Regions from separate parts of the Homo sapiens genome. Here regions 2, 3 and 4 are each linked to region 1. The links are contacts of gene promoters, found by promoter capture Hi-C in human tissues and cell types (Jung and others, 2019). All regions are on one chromosome and are shown on one strand. The core of a region is centred on a gene start or on the middle of the fragment in contact, and the rest is flanking DNA. Distances in the headings are between cores, read along the strand shown.

Region 1 (2,975 bases), core at 476-2,975:
CTGAGGCACTCGTAATGGTATGATCTGAGGGACACACACTGAACCAGCAGTCATTTTCTCTCTCTCTCTCTCTCTCTATATATATATACATATAAATTCCAATGTACACAAAAGCTGAAGAGCAGCACTTAATTTAAATGCAGCAAAACTAGTTAAAACGAGAGAATACTGTTAACATGGCACTACAAATATTATTCCCTTTTTAATTGAAATAATAATTACATTTCATCTGTATTTGCTGTTGAGGTCTTGTGTGGGGTTTTGATTATCTAAATACCTCACTTCTGCGAAAGGAGCATGAATGAATGAGATGGGGAAAAGAAAGAAGTTACTTTAAAAGGACAAATTAAATGAGTAAGGCAAAACAGAGACTATCACTAACGCTCTGACTTGAGTTCCCTGTAAATCATTATCGCCTTTTCCTGCCTCTGGTGTGTGTCAGCTCTCTTGGCTTCAGGGCAAGTCATCATACAAGGGGAACAGAAGTAATTCTGTGTGTACCACAAAATGTTAGTTAGAGCTAACTTTTTTGGGAAAGCTCCGGGTTCACAGCCTTGCCATTATCACCAGAGCAGTTCTAGTATTTGAAAGCTGCAAAGACACTTTAGAAGGACTGCAGAGTACTACTTCTCAGTGGAAAGGAAGTTTGCAAGAATATAAACAGTGACCAATAAACACAAGCCTCCCGTTTCATCTACTGTATTTATAAATCCTGGTATTAATAATTAACTACCAGTATGAAAGCCTTACTGGTCTTTTTGGAGGTGAGGGTGGGGAGGAAGGTTGTCATAATTAATGCACAGAAGGTTTCAGGGGGAAAAAACGCTCACCTTAACACAACAACCATTTACATCTCTGTATTGCCTTTTCAAATTTCATTAATAATCCATAGATTTTGCCCAATTATAATCTACATATTCATTCCATTTTTATAGTCTACTTCTTGCATTCTCACTGTATTATTTAGTTTTCCCTGTACTTATTTATCCATTTGTGGCTGGGCATTTAGGCTATTTCTAGTTTCTTTTTAGTTTTGCCTGTTGCAGTTCTAATAATGCTGATCTGAACATGTCTGCAGTTTGAGCTTTGTCACAGACTGTATTCTCAAAAATGGGGTACCTAAATTTAAGGGGTGAACTTAATGCCTTGTTGGATAGTTCCGGATCTAGGGCCAAGAATATAAACTACAGATACTGACAGCACAACAATAGCTCCTACGGGAGTGTGGCTGGACTTGAGACTTGCCCATAGTCGCATTTCCATTTAAGTGAAAGGCAGATAAAATAAAAGTAGTTGAAAAATTCTAAATAAAAAATATGTAGGAGAGGAAGTAATTCGCGAGCGTCAACTAGCAGCTGCCCTTAGGAAGCTGGGGTGGCCAGTGGGCCCCACGCAAAGGGAATCAAGAAAAAAGGCGGATCCGCCAGGCCCAAATGGCAACGTGCAGTCAACAGGATCCCCAGACCCCTCAACTCTCCCAACGTGGACCGCCCCCTCGCAGCCCGGATCCGGAATCCCGTTTGGTTGTTCCCGCCCATCAGGGGCTGCCAAGGACACCTGCATCCTTTCGGCTGGAGTAAGGGAAGCTCTTCCCCTCCTCTAGCCGCCCTCCTCTTCCTCTAACCGCGGGGCCCGGGATCGGGACCCCTAATGCATCTCTGCCGCGCCCAACCCAGTCGCCAGCCTCTCACCGCCTCTTGCCTCCTCCTTCGCCGCCGCCCGGGTTACCACAGACGCGGCGAGCCGCGCCCCGCCCACTGGGTGCTGGGCAGATGATTGGTGGAGACTCAGCTTCTTAGCAACTAGACCGGCCCCTGCCGCTCCGCAGGGAGCCTGGTACCCGCCTGGAGTTCCTTTCCCAGTGCTTTCCCATAGGCATCTAAGAATATTCCTTCACAGAGTTGCCAAGTGCTAAAAGTTGGTTTCCCAACTCAGAATGAAGGAACCAGGCTTGTGCGTCCGATGGGCATTGACATTCTGGAAAACAAGAATAAGAAGCTGTAGCGGCGCCTGTAAGTGGGCCGGAGCAGGCGCAGCTTGGCCACCTCCCGCCGAAAGGCAAGGAAGGACCGGCTGCGACACGAGGAAGAAGGCCCCTCGGCCTCAGCAGAGCGCTATCCTCCACTGGTTCCCCGGGTTCCCCGGCTTGCTACCGGGCTGCTCCGTGCATCTTTCCCCCCAGGCGTCAGGAACTGCGCCCTCATGGCGGAGGTGAAGGTGAAGGTGCAGCCGCCTGACGCGGATCCGGTCGAAATAGAAAACAGGTAAACCAGTGAGGCTCCGGCTTGGCACTCCATCAGGCGCCCAGTCATTTGGGCAGCTGGACCCCTTCTCCGGGATCCCTTGGGAGTGGCCGGAGCGGGTTAGGTGAGCACGCGGGAAAAACGATTGCGGGGTTCTGGACCCACTTGTTCCTTCCCATCCTGGGAGAGCAGAACTCAAGAAGTTCAAAATGGGTTTGACAGCTTGCAACTTTGTGTAGCTGGCTGGCTTTGCCCTGATACTTTTGGGGAAGTTGTGATGACGTGCTGCCTTCCTACTTTGACGCGATCAGTGCTTTGAGAGGAGCCCTCGGCTTTCTTTCCCTGTAGAACACTTGTGAATACATGTTCTGATCCAGGATCGCTCTTGTCACTAAGGGAACGTCTATGACAAAACGTTTAGGCGGAGTTAGGGCGCAGTTGGTGATTACGAAGTAACATTAAGCCAGGTGGTTTCAGTGCAGTATTGAACTCAAGACTTTTAGGACACCCAAAGCCTCTGCCACTTTTATTTTTATTTGTTTGTTTGTGAGACAGAGTCTCGCTCTGTCGCCAGGCTGGAGTGCAGTGGCGCGATCTCGGTTCACTGCAATCTCCGCCTCCCGGGTTCAAGCGATTCCCCTGCCTTAGCCTCCCGAGTAGCTGGGACTACAGGCTCGCGCCACCACGCCCAGCTAATTTTTTATGTTTTAGTAGAGACGGGGTTTCACCATG
Region 2 (2,975 bases), core at 150-2,649, 510 kb before region 1:
CTCCATCCCCCCTTAAGCTTGAAGGGCTCAGAGTACTCCTTAGCCCTGCTGGCCAACACTTGAGTCTCTGACTTAGGCCACAGATGTTACAATGCTTACAGTGGCCGTTTACAACAGTTAACAAAGCAGGCTTTAGAACCAAGTCCAGCCTTGGGCATGCCGGACCTTTACCATGCAAAGTTTTACCTCTTTTCCAGATCCCTTAGGTCACTTGTAAGAATCAAATTGAAAATATACCTACTCTCAAATAATTTAAGTTTTAAAACTGACTTCTGGCTGGGTGTGGTGGCTCACGCCTGCAATCCCAGCAATTTGGGATGCCAAGGTAGGCAGATCACTTGAGGTCAGGAGATCGAGACCAGCCTGACCAACATGGTGAAACCCCGTCTCTACTAAAAATACAAAAAGTGGCCAGGCACGGTGGCTCACGCCTGTAATCCCAGCACTTTGGGAGGTGGAGGCAGCTAGATCACAAGGTCAGGAGATCGAGAACATCTTGGCCAACACGGTGAAACCCCGTCTCTACCAAAAATACAAAAATTAGCTGGGCATGGTGGCGCACATCTGTAATCCCAGCTACTCAGGAGGCTGAGGTAGGAGAATCGCTTGAACCCAGGAGGCAGAGGTTGCAGTGAGCCGACATCACGCGACTGCACTCCAGCCTGGGCGATGAGAGCGAAACTCCGTCTTAAAAAAACAAACAAACAAAAAAACACACACAAATTAGCCTGGCATGGTGGCGTGCGCCTGTAATCCCAGCTACTCAGGAGGCTGAGGCAGAAGAACTGCTTGAACTCGGGAGGAGGAGGTTGCAGTGAGCCAAGATCGCACCACTGCACTTCAGCCTGGGCAACAGAGCGAGTCTCCAAAAAAAAAAAAAAAAACTACACATAAAAAACAAACCCAACAACCCAGCCTGAGCAAAACGGTGAGACCTCATCTCTATTTCAGAATTTTTAAAAAATTTTTAAAAACCTGACTTTTGTAGATTTCCCTTGAAACTACTGGATCACGTATCCAAAGTTTTAGGTAAAGTTTCAGTTCATGATGTACTTCCCTACCAGGTCAATCCTTACAATACGGATTATAATCAGCCTTCACGGTAAACAAGCACGGCTTCATTTGGAAAGCACATTTTCAACTGTTTTAAAAAATCGCAGTGCTTTTGGTAAGAGAGCCAAGGCACTTCCCTAAAAGGAGAAAAGTAGTTACGGAATCCCTGTGCATTTCCTCACCTATTCATCAGCTTCCCAGCTGGGGCACATCAGACACTGGCTGCAGGACAACCCTGCAGCTGTTGAGCTCCTGCCCACCAGTCTTCATAAACTCACTTTTGGTCCAAATTTCACTTACGACTCTACCAGCAAAGCTGCCTCTTCAAAAGGTTTAATGGCTTACAGAGGGCAAAGGGCACCTGGATGACTGAACAACACAAAAGGCAAGATTCTAAAACTCAGAACCCACCAGGAGAACAGAAAAAATACAGTTTTTTCTAAGTGGTTATGGTGACTGCAGACTCAGTGCCAAAATGAAAAAGACACAGTCCAAAGAAGTGAAACTCCACAATCTCTGATCTGTTAGATTGGGGCTAGTTGAACAGTCATTTAAATCTAATAGTCATTTGTATACAATGTAAGACATGGATACAATATGCAGTGCTAGCCTGTATTTTCCTATTTGAATATCCCACATAAATTACTACAGATAGGATAAAAAAGACACATATCTATTTAAATGACTTCCTAGTTTCCATTCCAAAAGCAGAAGATATGTACTTAAGCAGCACATGCTACAGTGTCTTCTCTTTCAAACTATCTGTTCCTAGCCTCTAGGGATTTTGTTTTGTTATGTTTCATTCCACTGCCTAAGAAACTAAGATTTTGCCAGCAAGAGGGCCAATATGACAAATCATCGATGATTCTTAGCATGGAGCCAAGAAGCCTGCCTCCTTGATCAGATTTTCAGCTGGAAAGATATCCACACCTTGCCTAGTCCAATATTTGTTAAGTGAGAATATAAAATTCAAAGATGTTCTGTCACACTCTAGATTTGTATTAATGTCCACAAATATTAAAGATTCACATGATACATATTTAGGAAACACATGCTACTTTGTTACTGTTTGAACTCTCAGGAAACAATGTTCCCATTGGTGCTCCGAATTGTTACTATTCTCTGCCATCCTGAAGATAACTAATACGTACCTATCTGTGTTCAATCTCAGCTTTAGATTATGGCACTGGTGTGTGAGAAACAACTGGTTCAACTAACTATAAGCAATATATTAACTCTGCTTTTTTTTTTTTTTTTTTGAGACGGAGTCTCACTCTGTTGCCCAGGCTGGAGTGCAGTGGCACAGTCTCAGCTCACCGCGACCTCCACCCCCGGGGTTCAATTCTCCCAGATACTCCTGCCTCAGCCTCCTGAGTAGCTGGGATTACAGGCGCCCACCACCCCACCCAGCTAATTTTTGTATTTTTAGTAGAGACAGGGTTTCACCATGTTGGTCAGGCTGGTCTCTAACTCCTGACCTCGTGATCTGCCCGCCTCAGCCTCCCAAAGTCCTGGGATTATAGGCGTGAGCCACCGCGCCCAGCCCAACTCTGCTTTTACAGGTATTGGCTCTCATTCCCTAGCCATTGGTTCTCCCCTTCCTGTAATTCAGGCCTGCAATATAATTTCTTAGTCCCCCAAGGAAAACAGAACTAAAGACTTCTAACAGAAGATCTCAGTCTACTAACATAGCTAATAGCTATTAAAGCTACTCAGGCATCGGCTTAATAAAAAACTAAAGGGCTGCAGCAAGTGATCAGATTTTCACCACTCATCTTTGTGAGATGGGTCTCAGAGGGCCCCGTCCCTGCTGACACCAACCATTCTTACCGGTAGCCTGCCAACACACAAGCAGTTCACAGTAGAACACTGCAGACTGCAGGGCATTTTCAGGCTACATAGCCTCAAGTTCCTAGAACAGG
Region 3 (2,975 bases), core at 185-2,684, 400 kb before region 1:
ATTCATTTCCATTCCTTCCACCTGGGATCGTGGCCTCTGCCTTATTTGGACGGAGCCCTCAGTATGAAAGCAATTTATCTGGCTCATATTACACAATGTGTTAAATACCTTGTTACCTCTTTAAATATAGACATTTTGGTCATAGTCAAAGTTGAATACTCAGAACTTAAAAACACACACAAGATGTTAATAAAAACAATTTCAATTTTAAAAAAAGAAGAAATGAATCCAATTCTTTACAAATCTCAAGACTGAAGTTGGAAGAGACAGGAGACATAATGTGGTCCATACCCCGCCCAATATTGGGGGTGAGGGGTCTGTACAGCATCCTTGGTAGGTATGTATCTAGCCCTGCTTGAATACTTCTAGTGTTGGGAAGCTCACTGTCTCAAAAAGCAACCTATTCTCTGGTTAGACAACAATGATGCTAGAAAGCTTTTCTTTCTGCTTGTGGAAATCTGCTTTCCTGCCCTTCCATCTCCCCTTTTATTCTGTCATCCAGGGCTGCTGAGACTCCCCCTGTACTCCCTCCCCCTGGTAGCTCTTCAAATTCTTGAAAGCAGCCATCTGCACCCTCACTTAAGACTTCTTTTCTCCAGTAATATATATTCAGGTTGAAAGGAGGCAGGTACAAACCTGCTCAGTGGCATCCCTGGAGCACACAGCAATAAGGAGAGGGTAAGATGTTGTTGAGAAAATATTCCTAAGGAAACTTTATTTAAACTTTTTTTTTTTTTAGACAGAGTTTCGCTCTTGTTCCCCAGGCTGGAGTACAATGGCACGATCTCGGCTCACTGCAACCTCCGCCACCCAATTTCAAGCGATTCTCCTGCCTCAGCCTCCCGAGTAGCTGGAATTACAGGCATGCACCACCATGCCCGGCTAATTTTTTGTATTTTTAGTAAAGACGGGGTTTCTCCATGTTGGTCAGGCTGATCTTGAACTCCCTACCTTAGATGATCCGCCCACCTCGGCCTCCCAAAGTGCTGGGATTACAAGCGTGAGCCACCGCGCCTCCCACCTAAACTTTTAATTGAAGTATAGTACAGTATTAGGAAAATGATATATTTTTACCCACTGAACTCACTAGTGGAAAAAGCACCCAAGTACAAGCCAAGGGTGCCTGCTCTCACCACCCCACTCACATTAGATTGCTTCCTTGCAGGTACAGCAAGGCAAAAAAGAAGAAATAAGAGTATAAGGATTATAAGGGAAAACAACAAAACTACTATTGTTTGTAGTCAGCATCACTGTCTACGGAAAACCCAAAAGAATCTATAGATAAATTATTAGAATTAATAAGAGACTTTAGCAAGATTGCAGTGTAGAAAATCTGAGTGTGGGCTGGGCACAGTGGCTCATGCCTGTAATTCCAGCACTTTGGGAGGCCAAGGTGGGCAATCACAAGGTCAAGAGATTGAGACCATCCAGGCCAACACGGTGAAACCCCGTCTCTACTAAAAAATACAAAAATTAGCTGGGCATGGTGGCGCATGCCTGTAGTCCCAGCTACTCGGGAGGCTGAGGCAGGAGAATCACTCGAACCCAGGAGGTGGAGGTTGCAGTGAGCCGAGATCGCACCACTGCACTCCAGTCTGGCGATAGAGCGAGACTCGGTCTCAGAAAAAAAAAAAGAATCTGAGTGTGTAAGGTTTCAGTGTCAATTAAATTTCTACATGCCAGCAACTGTCAGAAAAATAAAAAGTCTAATGAAAAATGATTTAAAACACAACAAAAATACAAAGTCCCTTGCAATTGATTTTTTGAAAATATTGTGCAAGCTCTTTGTATATAAAATTAGAAAACTTTATTGGTAGCCGGGCATGGCGGTGTGCACCTGTAGTCCCAGAGACTCGGGAGGCTGAGGTGGGAGGATCACCTGAGCCCGGGACGTGGCGGTTGCAGTGATCCTATATGGCACCACTGCACTCCAGCCTGGGCCACAAAAAAGAAGACCCTGTCTAAAAAACAAACAAACAACAACAACAAAAAACTTTATTGGAAGACATTAAAGAAGACACTAATCAATGGAAAGTTTTACTATATTAATGGATTGGAAGATTCAGAATCAAAGAGGCCAAAAATCTCCAAATTCATCTATAGATATAATACAATTTTTAAAAATACTTGACAGTCTTTTTGTGGGACATGATAAATTTCTTTCAAAATTTATGTGAAAGAAGAGTCGAAACACTCCTGAAGGACAAGGTGTGTAGGCTTGATCAATCAGATATCAATAGTAATTAAAATGATGTGGCTTTCATTCACAGAGGGACCACTGGTACCTGAGAGAGAGCCTGGAAACAGCCCCACACATATGTGTGCATTGATTTATGAGAGAGGGTATGCAGTGCAGCAGGGAAAGATGTCATATTCAATACATGGAATTGGAACAAGTGCTTATCCGTTTGGGAAAAATAAAGGAAACTGAATAACACACATATCAGTTTCTGGTGGATTAAACATTTAGATGTGTGTGAATACATATACATGTATATGTATATAGACAATGTAGAGGAATATGTTTATGACCACAGGATAAGAAAGAATTTCTTAAATAAGACCCAAAAAATAAACCACAAAAGAAAAAGGGTTTCCACCTTGAAGAACTGTGAACTTAAAAAAGAAAAGAAAAAGGTTGAGGCTGGGCACGGTGGCTCATGCCTGTAATCCCAGCACTTTGGGAGGCCAAGGCGGGCAGATCATGAGGTCAGGAGATCGAGACCATCCTGGCCAACATGGTGAAACCCCCGTCTCTACTAAAAATACAAAAAGTTAGCTGGGTGTGGTGGCACGCGCCAGTAGTCCCAGCTACTCAGAAGGCTGAGGCAAGAGAATTGCTTGAACCCAGGAGGCGGAGGCTGCAGTGAGCCGAGATAATGTCACTGCACCCCAGCCTAGGCGACAGAGCTATACTCTGTCTCAAAAGAAAAGAAAAGAAAAAGTTGATAAATTTAATTGTAGACAAATTAAGA
Region 4 (2,975 bases), core at 152-2,651, 370 kb after region 1:
CCACCCCCCTGCATTCCCATCTTCCCACGTACCTCAGAGTGGAGTAGAGATGAGTTGTCATCTACCAAGCCTTGCCCAAATGCAGACTTATAAAAAAATGTTGCTGCTGTTTAAAGCCACTAACTTTTCAGGTCATTTGTTGCACAGCAAGAGATAGTTAGAGTATACTTTATACAAATAGTGTCATCCAGTAGGTATACTTTCCTGACATTCCACATTATGTCTGTGAGAGTCTCCATGTTGTTGCATGTAGTCATAGACTGTTTATTCTTTTTGCTTTATAGTATGTGGTTATATGAATAAAATACAATTTATGTATTCATTGTGCTACTGACAGACATCATTTATTTCTAGTTGGGGCTATTAATAAAAGTCAAAGATTCTAGTACATGTCTTCTGGTAAATGTAAGTACATGTTTCTATTGGGCATGTACCTAGAATTGGAACTGCTGTGCCTTAGAGTCCATCTGTGGTCCACTTCAGTAGTTACTGTCAAAAAGTTTGCTAGTATTCTTTTTTGAACAAAATGTTAAAAGCCATGTCATAGGCTTGTTTATGGAGTGATGCTCTGAGGTTTGATCCTGTGAGGGAGGGAGGTCAGATCAGAGGTGCCCTAGTCATCTCTAGAAAAGACACTAGGTCAGCATTGGATTTATTCACTCTGTAACCCCATGGCCAAGTAGGCTTGCAAAGAATGTGATCTTTAACAGCAACAATTTGTAGACTGGGAGCCTCCTGGTGTTACACAACTGTGGAGTAGCCCTTTCTTATATTCCTGTTTCTGACTTCCCTTTAACAAATTTGTGAAAACACACACAAAGTCAAATTTTGGCCTTGTCTTTGGAAACAATCATTGCCACAGTCCAAGGAAGTTTCCAGTAGGTGTTCCATGATTAAGAACATTCGTGAGCCACACACCACAGGCTTTACCCTCTAAATCAGATTAGTCTGGAAAGACCCTGATGGAGTAAAGGGACAAGGCTAAATTGCCCTTTTATATGCCTTGGTTTGTATTTTCAATGGAAATTAAACCCAACAGCCACAGAACCTGCAACCCACAACTGAAGCGATGACGTAATGCACCATGACTGAGATGATGGCAAAGATAACTGTAGTGCTGTTGCTGCCCATCCAACAGCAATTATGAAGACACCATTAATAATAGCCTTGATTTCAGGATGATGACATATGAACAAAATGTGCTTGTAAGAATGGCCACAACACAGCATTTGAATATCATGCCCAGCCACAATCTCTCTCCTTTTGCCTGTGTATTTGGATTGTACATGCTGATTTTTGCCTCTGTCAGCTTAGATAAGTAAAGATAACTTAAATGTGATTCCTGATTCTGTTAATGGTTTGAAATAAGTATTATAGCTTCTCCATGTCCCTATGTCTGAATTTATCAGATGTTCAGGATGGATATTTCCCAAAAGGAAACATTTCTTGTACCTGTCGCTGGTGTTGAGGAACGTTTGGGGTGCTCCTGGTAGGAACTGTTCCTTTGGAAATGAGATCTTAGATATCACCCTTAGGGCTAACAATGTCTGGGAAGCAGCTGAGTGGTCCGTGATGTGGACAAGGGAGAGAGCAGGACAGGGAAGTGAGAGAGAGAGAAAGATTGAGAAGAGAGAAGCAATGAGACAGCAGCCGCCAGGATGGCAGGAAGATGTGGAAGAGGGGAGAAAGCTACAGCTGATAGAGATTGGTTAAGGCCTCAGAGGGCCTCCGTGGGCTGCTCCCATGTACTTTGGCTACAGAGCACAAAATAATGCACTTGAAGGGTTCTTGTGAGCTTCTTCTATAAAATGGGATGATGTTAATGATGGCGATGGTGATGATCTATATGTACCTCCTTATGTTATTATGAAGATTTGTAGAGATGATACTTACACAGTCTTTATCTCAGCACCCAGAGGGTAAGTGCTTAAGAAATGTAGTGAATGTTAAAATTCTACACAGGTAGTAATCTAGATTGTAAATAACAAACCTTGTCTGATAAAAATCTGGACAATAATCTGGCTATTTTTTTTTGTTTTTAGCACACATCAATGACCAGTTTTCAAAACAGATTATCATCAGGTAAATGTAATTGAAGCAAACAGAGTGACATGTGAGACACTTTAGAATCCTGCAGTGTCCCAGGAAATCTGCTGGGACCACGCTTTGCCATAGGCAGTAAAGCCTTTTGGGCAGGAGTTTATGTACTGCATGGGTTCAAATCCTGGCTCTGCCATTCACCAGCTTTATGACCATGGGTGAGTTGCCTAACCTCTCTGAGCCTCAGTTTCTCATCTGTGAAAGGGAAATAGTGATAGCATCCATTACATAGAGTTGTTGTGAAAGCTTAATATGGTTAGGTAGGCAAAAACTTAAATAGGTCTGGGCACACAACACTCAATATGGTAGTTCTCCTTATCCATGGTTTCAGTTTCCAACTGTGAAAATAGTTGGAAGTGGCTGTGTCTTTCCACGACTATAGCTCTGTCTGGTCCCTGCCCTCCACCCACCACTTGACCCCTCAATGCTCTAGCACTCACTGGATTCCAGCTCAGACCTAGGTATGTTAATGAATTCTGACGACTAAAAATAAAATCCTAAGCCCTGCAGCTGACTGAATGGACTCCCTCTTGGCTAAGGGGACCCCAGAGAAACCTAAAAAACTGAGTTGCTGGCCATGACAGGATGGGAGGTCATACACACCTTATTACCCCTGCCCTTTTGCAGTTTAGACACAACTACCAGCATTAATGTTAAAATAGAGATCATACCACTGACAGTACAGGCTCTCTGTGGCAATAAGATACCAAAATAGGACCTAAGGCTGTGCCAGGCAAGGGTTAAGTCATACAAGCAAAGAACTACACTAGAAGAATAAACTGTGTTCTACCTGCCACAAGGCTTTTCTTTCTCTCTATCAGCTAAACAAGCACCGGTCTTGAGATAAGCAATATTGAAACAGTTGCAGCTCAGCT

The links. Contacts are between HindIII fragments. The study calls those that stand out against the background at their distance.
Region 2: a fragment that was not itself captured here is called in contact with the fragment with the promoter of DZANK1 in region 1 in 1 of the 25 tissues and cell types used here (dorsolateral prefrontal cortex).
Region 3: a contact is called between a fragment that was not itself captured here and the fragment with the promoter of DZANK1 in region 1, in 1 of the 25 tissues and cell types used here (mesenchymal stem cells).
Region 4: a fragment that was not itself captured here is called in contact with the fragment with the promoter of DZANK1 in region 1 in 2 of the 25 tissues and cell types used here (ovary and spleen).

What each region holds. Positions count from the first base shown.
Region 1 is chr20:18,465,305-18,468,279 of GRCh38, forward strand. It overlaps DZANK1 (double zinc ribbon and ankyrin repeat domains 1), which reads right to left and starts at 1,726. Exons shown (of 21, transcript NM_001367614.1): 1 at 1,692-1,726; 2 at 1-73. The coding sequence starts at 54. It overlaps POLR3F (RNA polymerase III subunit F), which reads left to right and starts at 2,086. Exons shown (of 9, transcript NM_006466.4): 1 at 2,086-2,264. The coding sequence starts at 2,203. RefSeq lists enhancers at 1,606-2,224, 1,847-2,166. The HindIII fragment of the contact is 23,548 bases long and covers 1-2,975 here.
Region 2 is chr20:17,959,905-17,962,879 of GRCh38, forward strand. The region is part of intron 1 of SNX5 (sorting nexin 5); the gene reads right to left. It overlaps SNORD17 (small nucleolar RNA, C/D box 17), which reads right to left; the gene lies at 2,806-2,975. Among named protein-coding and RNA genes, the nearest start is that of SNORD17, 1.6 kb to the right of the region's middle. RefSeq lists an enhancer at 1,358-1,527. The HindIII fragment of the contact is 8,206 bases long and covers 1-2,975 here.
Region 3 is chr20:18,062,033-18,065,007 of GRCh38, forward strand. No RefSeq gene overlaps it. Among named protein-coding and RNA genes, the nearest start is that of OVOL2, 5.6 kb to the left of the region's middle. The HindIII fragment of the contact is 6,139 bases long and covers 1-2,975 here.
Region 4 is chr20:18,834,953-18,837,927 of GRCh38, forward strand. No RefSeq gene overlaps it. Among named protein-coding and RNA genes, the nearest start is that of SCP2D1-AS1, 6.2 kb to the left of the region's middle. The HindIII fragment of the contact is 6,459 bases long and covers 1-2,975 here.